5 separate regions of the Homo sapiens genome follow, and regions 1, 3, 4 and 5 are each linked to region 2. Evidence: promoter capture Hi-C in 16 types of primary human blood cells and fetal thymus (Javierre and others, 2016). All regions are on one chromosome and are shown on one strand. The core of a region is centred on a gene start or on the middle of the fragment in contact, and the rest is flanking DNA. Distances in the headings are between cores, read along the strand shown. Region 1 holds the start of EIF2B2 (eukaryotic translation initiation factor 2B subunit beta). Region 2 holds the start of NPC2 (NPC intracellular cholesterol transporter 2). Region 3 holds the start of DLST (dihydrolipoamide S-succinyltransferase). Region 4 holds the start of RPS6KL1 (ribosomal protein S6 kinase like 1). Region 5 holds the start of PGF (placental growth factor).

Region 1 (2,847 bases), core at 181-2,680, 510 kb before region 2:
AAGTACCCCTACCTATGAACCACCTCTGTCACTACAGAGCTCCTTACAACTGATTTTGAAGACAGTAGATTCAGCCAAGGAATGGCAATCTGGGAAATCCTAAAGTGCTGAGAATAGGGTAAAGAGAGCTTCGGCCTAAAAGAAGTCTTCCTCCAAAAGGTGGCCACAACACTTCTACATGAGAGAGACTGGCCAGAGAAGAAAAAATGGGGGAGCAATTTGGAAGCAGCTTCTTCATCCTCTGATTACAATGAATATCTGCAAGTCACTTGGACCGCAATGACAAGGGGGATAGAAATGGTATACGTGTACGTGTGTATAAAAATTCAGATAGTGAAGGAGGTCTATCGACCTTGGCTCTCTAGGGAGTTCATTTTGTTTCTTTACAATGAAAATAAAACTCTGTCCTAATAGAGTCTGTTCCACTCCACAGATCTGTAGTCTATCAAGGGTTGGTCTGTAAGGAAAAGTAGAGAGGATTACTTTGGTCCTGTCACCTGTTGCAACATTTCCTAATCAGGAAGGAGGACAAACCTCTGAGAACCAGAAGACAGCTAATCTCCCATCTCTGCTAATGAACAACCTTCAGAGGCTTCTGTTCCCTTATGTGCCTGTGACCAGTCCCATTTTCCCAGCGATCAGGCCTCTTACCCAGCTCCACTAGCAGCTCATTAATCGCCTCAATGATGTTGGACTGGAGTTGGGCATAATGGAAGCTGAAATCCTCGTTTAGGCCTCCGGATGTCAACAGTTTGTGCAGGGACTCCTGCTGATCACTCTCGTCGCTGCGTCCATGGAGTCTATAGAGGCAACAAGACCCAAAGAGAGAGGTGGGGAGGAGTGGTCAGGCAGGTAACAAGGGCTGTTCAGCTCCAATAAAGTCTCCGAGCAGGTAGAGGGGCCCGTGCAAAAAGTGTCACTGGATCCAACCAGGAGCCCAGGACGTGAGCCTGACCTGCCATACTCCTCCCGGATAATCTTGAGCACTCTCCGCACCATGTTGCCCACGGTGGTCTCGGAGGGCTGAGCGGCCGTCATCCTCCTGCCCTCTCTGCGGATCAGCTCCATCAGCTCCCCTACAGTCCAAAAGAGAGAGGATAAGAGGAGCCAACGCGAAGTGAGGCCTGGGAAATTTTCAGCCCTGGGATCGGGAACAGACAGGGGCCAGGTTCGCCGGCGGAGGCAGGCCGGCCTCACCCGCGTTGCTCCAGCGGTGGTCCGTGATGATCTGGCGCAGCAACCCTAGGGTCTCCCGAGCCATTTCCTCGGAGCTGCGCGGCCCACCACCCCGCTTCAGGGTCTCCACGAAGCTCTCGATCCTCTCTGACAACTCCGAGCCCTTCGCTGCGGATCCCGGCATCTTTAAGGTAGCTGCCTTCAGCCTTCACCGGCGGAATCCACACCTGCCAGACCACACAGTTTGCACTTCCGGGGCGGGCGAGGTCGGCTTCCGCTGTGAGGGGATGGGGGGAAACCTCAAGTTTGAGTGGAAGCCGGCTACGCCCTTCGTTGCCGATCTCCCGCCCCCTTCCTCTGCCTGAGCCAATCAGAGACGTGGGGCTCGGGTTGTTCAGTTATAACCGGGCGTCCGCGCGCCCCCGCGCCTCGGGGGCTGGAGGATCGGAAGCGGCCTTTCTTGGCTCAGCCGACGGTGAACGGAAGTAACCCGTCAGGCCTGTAGAGGGTGGCTGGTCCCGTTGCTATGGGAGCAGCAAGTCTCTACGCGCCCCTCACCGCGACTTAAGGCTACACTGAAGAAGTTGCGGCACTCCCTCCTGTCTTCCCAGCTCGGTGACTGCCCGAGCTGTCACTCCCGAGTGTCAGCTGACACTGACGCTCTGAATGCATGTCCAGGGTCGGCTGCCCCTTGGGCAGACGTCTCACTTTTGTTCTGTTACATTGCTTGGTACCGTTTGCGCCTGTGTCTAGGAGGTTCATGTCTCTGAAAACAAGGACGATATCTTTTGTTGCTTTTGTATTCTCAAGGCCTAACACGTCTAACAGAAGACGGCGAAATTAGAGATGAGGAAGATTAAGGAGATTCAAAGTGGGAGCCAATACAGAAGCAAAGATGACATCCTCTGATTTGGACAGAATTGTCCTCCTACAGAGAGGCCAGAGAGTATAACATAATACCAAGAGTTACCATTTACTTAAAGCTTACTGGTTCTTGGGCACTGTGTGTGAATTGTCTCAGTTAATAAGGTCTGAAATAGGTCCTCTTATCCCCATTTTACAGATTGGGAAACAGACCCACAGAATTTAAGCAGTTAATAAAGGATTGGGTTCATACTTAAATCCAGGTCTACCTGAACCCAAAGTATGTGTGTAATAGAAATCTCTATTTCCTTAAGATAAATTCTTCAAAGTGGAATCCATAGGCGAGCACATTTTAGACTTTTGTTACAATTAACAAATTGCCCTCCAAAAAGATTATGTCAATACCAAAGTTAGCCAAAGGTAGTACAAAGAAAAGAAAATTACAGATTAATATCTCTCATGAACATAGAAGCAAAAATTGCAACAAATTATTAGCACATCAAATCCTGCAATACATAAAAAAAGAATAATATGTAATTACAAAGTGAAACATAAACCTGGAATGCAAAGCTGATTAAACACTTAAAAATCAATGTAATATGCCATATTAACAATCTGAGAAGTAAAACCACATGATCATGTCAATTGATGCAGGAAGAAACATTTGACAAAATTCAATATTCATGGTACAAACTCTCAGAAAACTAGAACAAAAGGGAACTTCCTGAACTCGATAAAGGGTATCTACAAAATCCTACACCTAAAAATCATACTTCACAGTAAAAGATTGCTTTCTCCCTAAGATCA
Region 2 (2,700 bases), core at 119-2,618:
CAATGGAATAAATACTGGGAAACGTGTAGGGACTTAAGCCTGGAATCTAGTCCGGCCTGACTTTCTACCGACTACCCAATGGACCTGGGCAGATCAATTTTGCTCCTATAACTTAGTTACTTTGATTCAGAACAACAAACCTTTACTGCATCCTCACTGTGAGACGGGCGGTGTTAACCATCCCAGGTAAACCCTTTAAATTTGGAATAAAAGTGCACCTTAAACTGGAGACACTTTTGTCCCTCCTGTACCTCCTTTGGGGGCCCACCCCTTCCTCCTTGCCTGTCGTCGGGGTTGATAACTGTATCCAGTGAAAATTTGTATTGGAATCCGGAGCATCCACCTCCCTCCACTTGCAGCCTGAGGAATTCTGACCCTTCGGTGATTTCCAAAAGCCTCTGAAATGCAGGAAGGGGGATCAAGAATAGCGGGAAACGGGAGTTAAAGGGCTGAGTGAAGAGCAGTTCCCGCTGCTCCCGCCAATCGCCTGGGTACCGCCGCTCCGCGTCCGGCCTCCTACCTGGACGCAACTGTCTGTGAGGCGGATCTGCCCTTCGCCGGCCTCGGGGCTGGAGGACGACGCCTCCCGACGCGCCTGGGGTCCCAGGGAGGCCGTGAGGAGCCTGCGCGCAAGGGAGGAGGGTGAGCCCGGGAGCAGAAGGGGCACCTTGCAACCCTCGACCTGGAGCGCCTCACGCTAAACCTGGCGACCCCCACCTGGACGGCCTCCCACCAAACCCTCGCATCCCCCACAGGCCTTAGTTTCCCATTTGTCCTAGAGGCGCAGAACCAAACACCCTTTCCAGGTGCCTTTCTAGTCTTGGTACCTGCCCCTCGGCCAGGGAGTGACCGCTCTCTGCGTCGCGGCCGTTAGGGACGACCCCCAGGCGGCAGCCATCTTCCTCCACAAGCTCCGCCCCTCGCGTCTCCCCCGTTTCTCACCCGGGGCCTCGGGAGGCGGAGAGAACGAACAGGAGGCCGGGACTTCACGGAGGCCCCGCCCCCCCAACATGCCTATTGGGTAGTGCGGGAGGAGAAGGTGTCTGATTGGCTAGGAATGCTCCAGACGGCAGCGGCGGGGACGCACCCAGGAAGCCGGAGAGGTGCTCTAAAGGGAAGGAACGGGGCGGGGAGGAGTGAGGCGGGGCGGGGCGGAGGTGGGTCCGGGCGGGTCAGGCCTCTGAGGGGATGGCATGGGCGGAGACTGCAGGCTTCTGGGCCTGAGAGGGCTGGAGCTGGCTTTCCGGAGCCGGGGGCGGGGCGCGGGCGGGCCTCAGCTGTGGTTACTGGTGACAGGTCGCCTGACTGGGCTCCTCCCCGGGCCCGCCCCGACAGGTTTGTCTTGTGACCGCGGGCGGCCGCTGCTTCTTTCCCGAGCTTGGAACTTCGTTATCCGCGATGCGTTTCCTGGCAGCTACATTCCTGCTCCTGGCGCTCAGCACCGCTGCCCAGGCCGAACCGGTGCAGTTCAAGGACTGCGGTGAGCCCCAGGCCCGCCCAAGGTTCCCGCGCCCTCTGTGGAAGGCCCCGCCGGACCCCCGCGCTGAGACCCCTGGGGCTGGGCTGGGCGGATCCCTCGGGCGGCCAGGCTGAGCCTTGGACCCTACCTAACTGGAATGGGCTGGGTCGGGGGAGAAGGCGCCGGCCTCCATGAAACCCGACCGCGCACAACTTTGTTTCTTTCCTTAGAACGCGTGTTTTGGGGTTCCTGGGAACTCCAGGAGGTGGGCCTTTTGCTGAAGTTTCCTAAAGTTTGTAGGGCGGACAACAGAAGGGCTGTATCCAGCTCTGGTGGAGGGGTGGAGCACAGAACTTCTTTTTATTTATGCTTTGTATCTTGGAATCCCGCCTCCCCCTTCCAACTCCTTTTGCTTTTCTTTTAATTTCGTTTTTGCTGACAAGTCAAAAGTCAATTCCCCTTTTTCATCATTTATTGTTACAAATAGGACTTCCTTTGGGCTTTGGAATCTTGTGATTCTTAATCAGTTTTTCCTTGTATAAATCTCATTGTGTCTCTAATCACAGCTTGTGATACATAACTCCCTCTCGCCGCTGTGGTTGGAATCTTTGTTGGAAAATACAACAGGTGGTAGAAATTCTGAGTGCCTTCATTGAGTCGAGTCTATAGAATTGTCGGAACAGAAACTCGAGCAATGTTGTTCAGAGGTGGAGATAGAGAGATAGAACTGTCAATGAAAGAGGCATGAAACTGACTTTGTAAGATCTATGAGTGGAAAGGAAGCACGGAGATCGTATAATCAATCATTGAATTCCAGGGATGTTGGGTAGCCTACCTAAAGTCACGCAGCAGAATGGGGAGCCAGAGTAAGTGTAACCGCCCAAGGGGTTCACCTTGCGCATTGCCTAGACAGAGCGGATTTATCAAGATGGGATTTGCAGTGGCGAAAAGAGTAATTCACGCAGAGCCGGCTGTGGGGGAGGCCGGAGTTTTATTGTTACTCAGATCAGTCTCCCCGAGCATTCGGGGATCAGAGTTTTTAAGGATAATTTGGCGGGTATGGGCTTGGAAAGTGGGGAGTGCTGATTGGTCAGGTTGAAGATAAAATCATAGGAGAGTCGAAGTGAGTTCTTCTTGCTGACCTCTGGGTGGTGTCATTTGCTGCATCGGAATGCAGGATCTGCAAAATATCTCAAGCACTGACCTTAGGTTTTACAATAGTGATATCATTACCAGGAGCA
Region 3 (2,732 bases), core at 230-2,729, 390 kb before region 2:
TCCTCAGGGTCTTTGTGAATGCCATTCTCTTTCTCCTGGGCTTCACTGGGTTAGCTCCGTCACATTCTGCTAGCCATAACTTTTTTTTTTTTTTTTTTTTGAGATGGAGTCTCGCTCTGTCGCCCAGGCTGGAGTGCAGTGGCGCGAACTCGGCTCACTGCAAGCTCCGCCTCCCGGCTTCACGCCATTCTCGTGCCTCAGCCTCCCGAGGAGCTGGGACTACAGGCGCCTGCCACCACGCCCGGCTAATTTTTTGTATTTTTTAGTAGAGATGGGGTTTCACCGTGTTAACCAGGATGGTCTCGATCTCCTGACCTCGTGATCCGCCCGCCTCAGCCTCCCAGAGTGCTGGGATTACAGGCGTCAGCCACCGCGCCCGGCCATGGCCATAACTTTTAAGTCACCTCCTCAAAAAGGGCTCTTCTGTCCACCCTCGTTTCCTTCTCAGCAGTTACAAAAATTTGCCTTTGTTGGCTTGTTTAGCAACTGACACTATCCAACTAGCCTAGGAGCTCCACGAGGGCAAGAACTGTACACTTCTGTATCCACTCCTGTATCCCTAGCGTCTAGCACAGTGCCTAACACAGTAGAAACTCAACTACGAGCTAAATGAATAAGCGATAGCTCGTGATTATGTAGCATTGCGTCTCACTACTCTCTGAACCAAACTGTCTTTAAATATTATGAGAAACACAGGCACCCCCGAGTTCCTCACATACTGCTCTGCCCAGGAGGAGAGCATTTTAGGTGACGGTAAGGGCAGAACTTACCAGGCAGGGAACGTCTCCCTAGAGGGCAGTTCCCCTGTTGAGAAAGAAGACATTATCGACGTCACCCAAGATGAAAAAAAAACCCAGCTTTTTCTTTTAAGTACACGCTCAAAGCTGTCCCAGTGGTGGTGACAGGTGAATCTCGTAACTCCGAAGGTAAATGCAACACACCGTGCTGGCAGACCCAATCAACACGCTGGGCCTGCCAAACTATCTCAACTTCCCAACGGGACTCATTAATACCCACTGATTTTAACAGAGCAAGACGAGACGGGCGCCGAATCCCGCCGGAGGACTCCGCCGCGCCTCCTCCCTAACTCTGAGTCAAGTATCTGGACGGGCGCGGCTCCCCAGCTCCCGCGCGGAGGGTGGGGTACAGCAGGAAACGTTCCCCGCAGGCTGCCTGGAGAAGGCAGGGGGCCGCTGGGCTCCGCAAAACGGTCCCGAGGGCAACCACGGCCCCGGGCCGCCCAGCCCGCGCGGCCTCCGCGTCCCAGTGCCCTTGGTGCCCGGCCCGGCCGGCGCGCCGCGCCCCTGCCTTCCAGGCCGCCTCTCTGCCCGCCAACAGACTCCTCACCCGTCGGGGCCCCGGCTCGGCCAGACCGTACCTTCTGGAAGGCGGAGAGCGAGCGGCTGAACGCCCGAGACACACAGCGGGATCGGGACAGCATCACGGCGGAGGAGCCGAGGGCGGGCGGACACCGGATATAGGGCCGGACAACAACCGGAAGTGGGGCGGGCCGCAGTACCCGCCGCCCGACGAGGGGTGTTCGGAGCGAACCACTGGCAGGGGGTGGGCGCACGGCGGCGCCCAGTATCCCGGCTGCAGCGCAGGAGTCCCGCTCTCTGGAGCAGGCAACCCTAAGGCGCTCTTGGGGCCCTCCGCACTGCCTGTCAGCCTGAGGTGGTTCTCCTGAAGGTGTATACGACTGTCCCGCCACCACATTGCCCCCGGGGTCAGGCCTTCCCCTACCCTTCCACAGAACTGGCTCTGAGCTTGGCGCCCTTCTCTCTTGGGACCCGAGGGCACCGCGCCGTTCCGCCTCTGTACCTTGGGAAGAGAGCAAAAGAGGGGCACGGACATTGAACTGAAACCTTGGCAGACATGCATGCCTGATCTTACACTTGTGTGGCCTGGGGCAGATGACATTGCCCCCCACCCCCAGTCTCAGGTCCCTTAACTATTAAAAAAAAAAAAAAAGGCACTTGTTACTTCCCTGTCTTCCTAACCCCGAGTCAAAGAAACAGAATCCCAGGAATTTCTAAATCCCATTGCCTTTTTACGAGTCGGATATCTTCACCAACTATAGCCTTATTTCTCAACAGCTTCTGATCTCCCCCCAACGCAAATTCCAGCCAAACTAATTGTTCCCCATACATCTTGTGCATTTTGGAAGTTGTTCGTTTGTCACCCTATCCCTAGAATATAAACTCCCAGCTGTTTTTTTAAGAAACAAGGTCATAGTTCACTGGAGCCTCGACACTCTGGGCTCAAGCGATCCCTCTGCCTCAGCCTCTGGAGTAGCTGGGACTACAGGTGCCACCATGCCAGGCTGACCTCCCCACTTTGAGTGTGCCATTCTTCCCGCTGACTTGAAGTGAAAGCATATAGCATCCCCTTCCCCTCCTTAAGTATTCAGGCCCCTTGAGTATTCACCTTTAAGGCTCACCTTCCTAATGAAAAAGATGTGCTTTAAACCTCTGGCTGAATTAGTAACACATAAATGTATGAATGAATGAATGAACCACTTGGTGCCGTTCATGATGATTTCTTTATCTGAGGCATTTTGCCTGGCCCTCAGGACCTTTATTTTTTATTTTTCTAATTAATTTATGTTTTAATATAAATTGAGACGGGGTCTCACTATGTTGCCCAGGCTGGCCTCAAATTCCATCAGGACCTTTACAGTGCCTTCACTCACCTGAACCCTGAAAGCACTGCCACTGAAATTCTGGAAGGAT
Region 4 (2,700 bases), core at 178-2,677, 430 kb before region 2:
GATGTCATGGCTCACGTTTGTAATCTCAACACTTTGGGAGGCTAAGGTGGGTGGATCACCTGAGCTCCAGAGTTTGAGACCAGCCTGGGCAATATGGTGAAACCCCATCTCTACTAAAAAAAAAAAAAAAAAAAAAAAAAAAAAGGAAATTAGCCGTACTGCAAACCTAGGGTGGTAGGTAAAGAAGTGAGGCCTAGAGTGTATTTTGGTTTGTTTTCTTGTTTTGCTTTTAAGAGGGGAGAAACAAGCATTATGTTTGTATCAGGTGGGAATTATCTAGTGGGAGAGACGGGAGAATCGCTGGAGTGGTGTCGCTGAGTAGGTGATGGCACGGGACTGATGCCCACCTGGAAGGGTGGCCTTCGATGGGGCACAGACAGTCACCTGTGGAAAAAGGTTGGAAGCAGAGTGTGGGCACAGCCCCGCCCGCGGGCCAAGAGCAAGCCTGTGGGAGTCTGTGCGCCACTGCTGTCAAGGGAAGGATGAAGCAACAGTGCTGGCTGAGAGTGAGGATAGGGGGACGGGTGGGAGTCAGAGGGAGAAAGTATGAAAGGGTGTCTAAGGTAGAGCAAGTGCAGCCGGGGGACAGTGTGAAGCCAGTCAGCACTGAACCTGCAGGTGAGATCTGTGTCACAGGGTTGCCTGTGATCTGTTGCCCCATCACCCAGGCTGGAGTGCAGTGACACGATCTCGGCTCGCTGCAGCCTCAACCTCCCGAGCTCACTCCATCCTCCCACCTCAGCCTCCTGAGTAACTGGGACCACAGGCACACGCCACCATGCCCAGCTAAATTTTGTAATTTTTATAGAGATTGGGTCTACCTATGTTGCCCAGGCTGGTCTTGAACTCCTAGGTTCAAATGATCCTCCCGCCTCAGCCTTCCATAATGCAGAGATTACAGGCATGAGCCACCGCACCCGGCCTATGTCTTGAATTTTAAGCTCGGTTCTGATATCAAAAGCCTTCTATTGCTGGGTTCTTTACTCTCGGTAGCCCTCACTAGACTGTAAGCCCCATGCGGATGTAAACAGCGCTGTCTAGTTCACGGCTGTATCTCAACATCCAGCTCCTCATGCATGGGAGACTCTCAATACATAGCATTGAATCGTTGAATAAATGAATGAAGCAATGAATGAGAAAAGTCCTAGAAGTGGCACGTCTAGATTTCTGAAGCAGCCCCTTCCGCATCCCTGGATGATTCTAGACCTGCTCTCCCCACCCACCCCACATCCCATCCCACCCTCCCCTCTCTAAACCGCCCCCCGCCCCTCACAGCCCAGCCGTGCAGACCTTGCGGCTTTAAGGCCGGCAGGAGCCGAGCCGGGCGGTGATTGGTGGTTTATTCTAAGGCTCAAGTATGAGCTCATCCGCAGCCAATGGCCGCGCTGCACCGGCTGGCCCCGCACGCTGGATGCCGGAAAGCAGCGGCCCGCGGCGCGCTCTGGCGTGAAGGGCCGGTACGTGAGGGGGAGGCCTGGCCCGCGGACCCGGCTCCCAGCTCGGGCAGGTACGGTGTTTTGTCCGGTCCCTTCTCCACCCTCCCAGGCGAGGGGCCCCCTCGGCCGTCCCTCCACCCTGGGACCGTGCACCTTGCGGCTGGGGCCCCGTGGGTTGCACGCGCCGCTTTCTGTGTCCAGGCGGGGCCGGCGGCTCTGCCCGGCAGGACCCTGCCCGGCGGGGTGGACCCTGAAGCCAGTCCTACCCGGGCACCCCCCAGAGCAAGGCCTCAGAGCCTCAAGTTCCCCTGGGCTTGGCCGAGCAGGGATGGTGCGGCCTCCCTCTGCCTCCTGGCCGCATCCTGGCCGGGATTCAGCTCCCCGCCGGCTGAGGCTGTGGGTCTCCCTCCCCGCCCCACCGCCCATCCTGCTCTCTCCTCTTTCTCTCCAAATGACCTGGGGTTGGAAGTTCCGGGTCCTGCCCATTCCCAGTGGGACCTGGGAGAGCAAAGGCGGGGTAGCTTTGTGGGCCTCTCTCTGAGCCCCTTCCCTTCCCGCAGCCACGGCTGTCATCCCTTTGGCCGCCTGGGTCACACATTGCTCAGGAAGAAGCTGCTGTCAGGTCCTTGGAGGCCACATGACCTTCTCAAAAGTAAAGCCAGGAGGACAGAGCGACCCTCCCTGGGGCTGGGTCACCCTGCCCTCTTCTACCCCCCATCCAACGTGGCACCGAGTCTGCCACTCAGTCATTCCGTCTGCCAACAGTTCTTACAGCCCAGCTCTGTGCTCTGCTCTCTGCTGGCTCCAGGAGGGGTCCTCACTCGCTGACCACACTGACCTCAGGACCAAGGGAACAAAACACAGCAGGGGCAATCCATCCGGTCCACGGAGAAGTGCTAAACCCCAAAGGGTAAATGAGATTCCCACAGGAGGAGCAGGGAGGAGACAACAGGCAGGGTGGAGGGAACAGCATGAGGAACAGCATTTGAGCCCAGCGTGTGTGGCCTCCATGTGCTGAATGCGTACTGGATACCAAGCTTGCTCTACGGAGGCCCTGTGAAGGTGGCTGTGGATCACAGATATCCTCAGCTCTCTCCAGAGCTCAACACAGTACCAGATGCTCCAGAAATGTTTGCTGAACTGAATTTGACTGGAAAGGAAAACAGAGCCCCAGGCCTGCGCGGTGGCTCACGTCTATAATCCCAGCACTGTGGGAGGCCGAGGCAGACGGATCACTTGAGGTCAGGAGTTCAAGACCAGCCTG
Region 5 (2,700 bases), core at 59-2,558, 460 kb before region 2:
CTCCCTGCTCTTGGCTGGAATGTGAGCTGTAGGGGCCACTTCCCAGGCCTCGCTCCTCCCCCACAGCCACCCACCAGCCCCAGGCCCAGCCAACTCGTGACTCCCAGTCCTGCCAGGTTCCTGCAGCCTGGGAGCTGGACACAGAAGGCAGTGAGAGGAGTGGTGGTAAAGAAAGATCCAGAACCAAGGGAGGGCACACACAAACGCAGAGAGAGAGGCACAGTCTTCACCCACAGAGACAGACACACACACGCAGAGACAGGCAGGCGTGCAGACTCACAGTCCCACCGAAAGATACACATTCAGACACTTCCAAACACACCCAGATACACAGCGGACACGAACAGATCACACAAGCATACAGAGATACAGAGAGACCTGACCCCCACACAGAGGCGTATTTGGAGGTACAGTAGTCACACGTACTCAGACCACACAGAGGCTCAGATGCACCGCTCATGGATATTCACAGACCCGCAAATGCCCATGCACACGCGCAGATGCACACAGACCCCCGCGCAGCGTACAGTTCCTCCTCGGCCAGGGACCAGGAGGAGATGCCTGAGTGAGACCACTCTCTACCACAGGGGGCTGCCCCGCAGGGAGGGCCTGGGAAGACTGCTTCCCAAGGAGGCAACAGGCCTGATCCTCCAGCCAGGTGCCCTGAGAGGTTTCCTGTGGGAGGCCCACTGTGTCCGTGCCTGGCTAGGAGGGTGGTAGGTCGGGTTAGAGTTCTGGAGTCACGTAGGCTTGGGTTTTGTCTCTGCCAGTTCCTCGGACACACAGATGCGCGCACACACACAACACACACACACTTTCCAAGAATGCCTATGTCCATTCGACATATGCAGGCAGGGGTGCTCTCGGAGCCTCGGTTTCTTCATCTATATAACCTGGCTAGGAATCCCTTGGCCCCCTAGGGGTGTGGGCATGGCTGCCTTCCCAGGCATCCCGGACGGCCCTTCCTGCAGAGGCGGTTAGATCATGAGCCTTGACGGCTGACGCTGGACTCCTGGATGCCCCCATCCCAGGTGACCGCCCTGAGAGCCGAAGCAGGGCTGTGGGCCCTGTGGGCGGGCGCGGCGCGGCCCGGGGAGCTGCGGGCTGGGCTCGGCGAGGCGTCTGGACCTGCCGAGAGCCCCTCGCACGCACTGCGGGCTCCGGCGCTGCGGGCTGGCCGGGCGCTGCGGGCTGACCGGGCGCTCCGGGAACTCGGCTCGGGAACCTCGTCTGCGGTGGGCGGGGCCGGCCCGGAGCCCCGCCCCGGCTCAGTCCCTGAAACCCAGGCGCGGACCGGCTGCAGTCTCAGAAGGGAGCTGCTGTCTGCGGAGGAAACTGCATCGACGGACGGCCGCCCAGCTACGGGAGGACCTGGAGTGGCACTGGGCGCCCGACGGACCATCCCCGGGACCCGCCTGCCCCTCGGCGCCCCGCCCCGCCGGGCCGCTCCCCGTCGGGTTCCCCAGCCACAGCCTTACCTACGGGCTCCTGACTCCGCAAGGCTTCCAGAAGATGCTCGAACCACCGGCCGGGGCCTCGGGGCAGCAGTGAGGGAGGCGTCCAGCCCCCCACTCAGCTCTTCTCCTCCTGTGCCAGGGGCTCCCCGGGGGATGAGCATGGTGGTTTTCCCTCGGAGCCCCCTGGCTCGGGACGTCTGAGAAGATGCCGGTCATGAGGCTGTTCCCTTGCTTCCTGCAGCTCCTGGCCGGGCTGGCGCTGCCTGCTGTGCCCCCCCAGGTAAGAGCTACCCCCACCTAGCCTGGCTCCCCAGACCTCCCCATCCCAGCACTGGAAGCATGGGACTCTGAAATCACAGACCCACTCCAGGGAGCAGCAACTCCAAGGATGTCCACACACTTCCTAAAGGCCAGGCTGGACTTCTTTCGTTTGGGAAGAGACCTCAGGCTGGCTGTCCCCCAGGTCCTGGGGGCTGTCTTGGTGGGGGCAGGGAAGCCACAGGGAGGGAGGGAGGGAGGGAGGTTTCCTGTCTGGCCCCTGGAGCCCTGGTGGCTTTGCTAAAAGCATCTGTCCACTAATCCCAGGCGGGTCCCTGGCCTTGTGGTCAGGGTCGAGGCCCCATGGCCAACCAGGCGTCCCCAGGACCTCTGACCTGGCCTGGTGGGGGTGGCGGAGGAGCCAGCTGAAGAAGCTGTTGGTGGGGAGGCTGGCCCTGCCCCCACCAGGGCTCAGGACTGAGCCGTGGGCTCCTGGGTGGGCTGGGGACGAGACAAGGGGTCTCGCTGTGCCTTTTCTCCTGGGTGGGTGGCCGGAGGTCCTGAGTGCAGGGCCTGGGGAAGTGAGCAGGGCCCTTTTCCCAGGAGCCGGGTGAGTCTGGCTGGGAGCCAGCTTGGGCAGTGAAATCCTGACAAAGCCAATGAACTGCCTTCCCACTGCGTTGTCCCACTGCCCTGGGAGTCCCCAGCCCCAGCCCAAGAGTAGGAGTGGGCTGGGCAGTCCCTGAGGAGTCCGAGCAGCCCAGCCACCCGCCTGCCTGCTGCAGGGCTGGCCAGAGGTGTAACGTTACCGGCTGCACCAGCTCATGGCGCCACCCGCTCCAGCCCCTCAGCTCCCACCAGCTGATCACCTCCCCCTGGGCTCTGGCACCCAGCCAAGGCGGGCTGTGCAGGGCCCAGCAGGGTTGGCCTGGGGGCTGGGTAGAAGGCAGACCCGCAGGATTGGAAGATCTTTGGGATGCAGCAG

Evidence for each region. Contacts are between HindIII fragments. The CHiCAGO score rates a contact against its expected background, and 5 or more counts as called.
Region 1: the fragment with the promoter of EIF2B2 here is called in contact with the fragment with the promoter of NPC2 in region 2 in 3 of 17 cell types (fetal thymus, total CD8 T cells and naive CD4 T cells); the score reaches 7.5 in fetal thymus.
Region 3: a contact is called between the fragment with the promoter of DLST here and the fragment with the promoter of NPC2 in region 2, in 1 of 17 cell types (M2 macrophages). The highest score is 5.3, in M2 macrophages.
Region 4: the fragment with the promoter of RPS6KL1 here is called in contact with the fragment with the promoter of NPC2 in region 2 in 2 of 17 cell types (fetal thymus and monocytes); the score reaches 5.8 in fetal thymus.
Region 5: the fragment with the promoter of PGF here is called in contact with the fragment with the promoter of NPC2 in region 2 in 1 of 17 cell types (monocytes); the score reaches 5.2 in monocytes.

What each region holds. Positions count from the first base shown.
Region 1 is chr14:75,001,504-75,004,350 of GRCh38, reverse strand. It overlaps EIF2B2 (eukaryotic translation initiation factor 2B subunit beta), which reads right to left and starts at 1,430. Exons shown (of 8, transcript NM_014239.4): 1 at 1,198-1,430; 2 at 956-1,076; 3 at 652-800. The coding sequence starts at 1,360. RefSeq lists enhancers at 1,072-1,752, 1,794-1,883. The HindIII fragment of the contact is 8,033 bases long and covers 1-2,161 here.
Region 2 is chr14:74,491,973-74,494,672 of GRCh38, reverse strand. It overlaps NPC2 (NPC intracellular cholesterol transporter 2), which reads left to right and starts at 1,368. Exons shown (of 5, transcript NM_006432.5): 1 at 1,368-1,480. The coding sequence starts at 1,399. It overlaps ISCA2 (iron-sulfur cluster assembly 2), which reads right to left and starts at 908. Exons shown (of 4, transcript NM_194279.4): 1 at 828-908; 2 at 521-623; 3 at 283-398. The coding sequence starts at 898. RefSeq lists an enhancer at 826-905 and silencers at 1,106-1,385, 1,556-1,615. The HindIII fragment of the contact is 4,485 bases long and covers 1-2,700 here.
Region 3 is chr14:74,880,663-74,883,394 of GRCh38, reverse strand. It overlaps DLST (dihydrolipoamide S-succinyltransferase), which reads right to left and starts at 1,479. Exons shown (of 15, transcript NM_001933.5): 1 at 1,379-1,479; 2 at 771-804. The coding sequence starts at 1,441. RefSeq lists silencers at 1,135-1,464, 1,321-1,547. The HindIII fragment of the contact is 10,796 bases long and covers 1-2,732 here.
Region 4 is chr14:74,921,987-74,924,686 of GRCh38, reverse strand. RPS6KL1 (ribosomal protein S6 kinase like 1) reads left to right here and starts at 1,427. Exons shown (of 12, transcript NM_031464.5): 1 at 1,427-1,507; 2 at 2,202-2,700. RefSeq lists silencers at 1,202-1,261, 1,352-1,761 and enhancers at 1,132-1,902, 1,903-2,674. The HindIII fragment of the contact is 5,428 bases long and covers 1-2,475 here.
Region 5 is chr14:74,954,205-74,956,904 of GRCh38, reverse strand. PGF (placental growth factor) reads left to right here and starts at 1,308. Exons shown (of 7, transcript NM_002632.6): 1 at 1,308-1,737. The coding sequence starts at 1,663. RefSeq lists silencers at 1,162-1,261, 1,442-1,511. The HindIII fragment of the contact is 6,970 bases long and covers 1-2,700 here.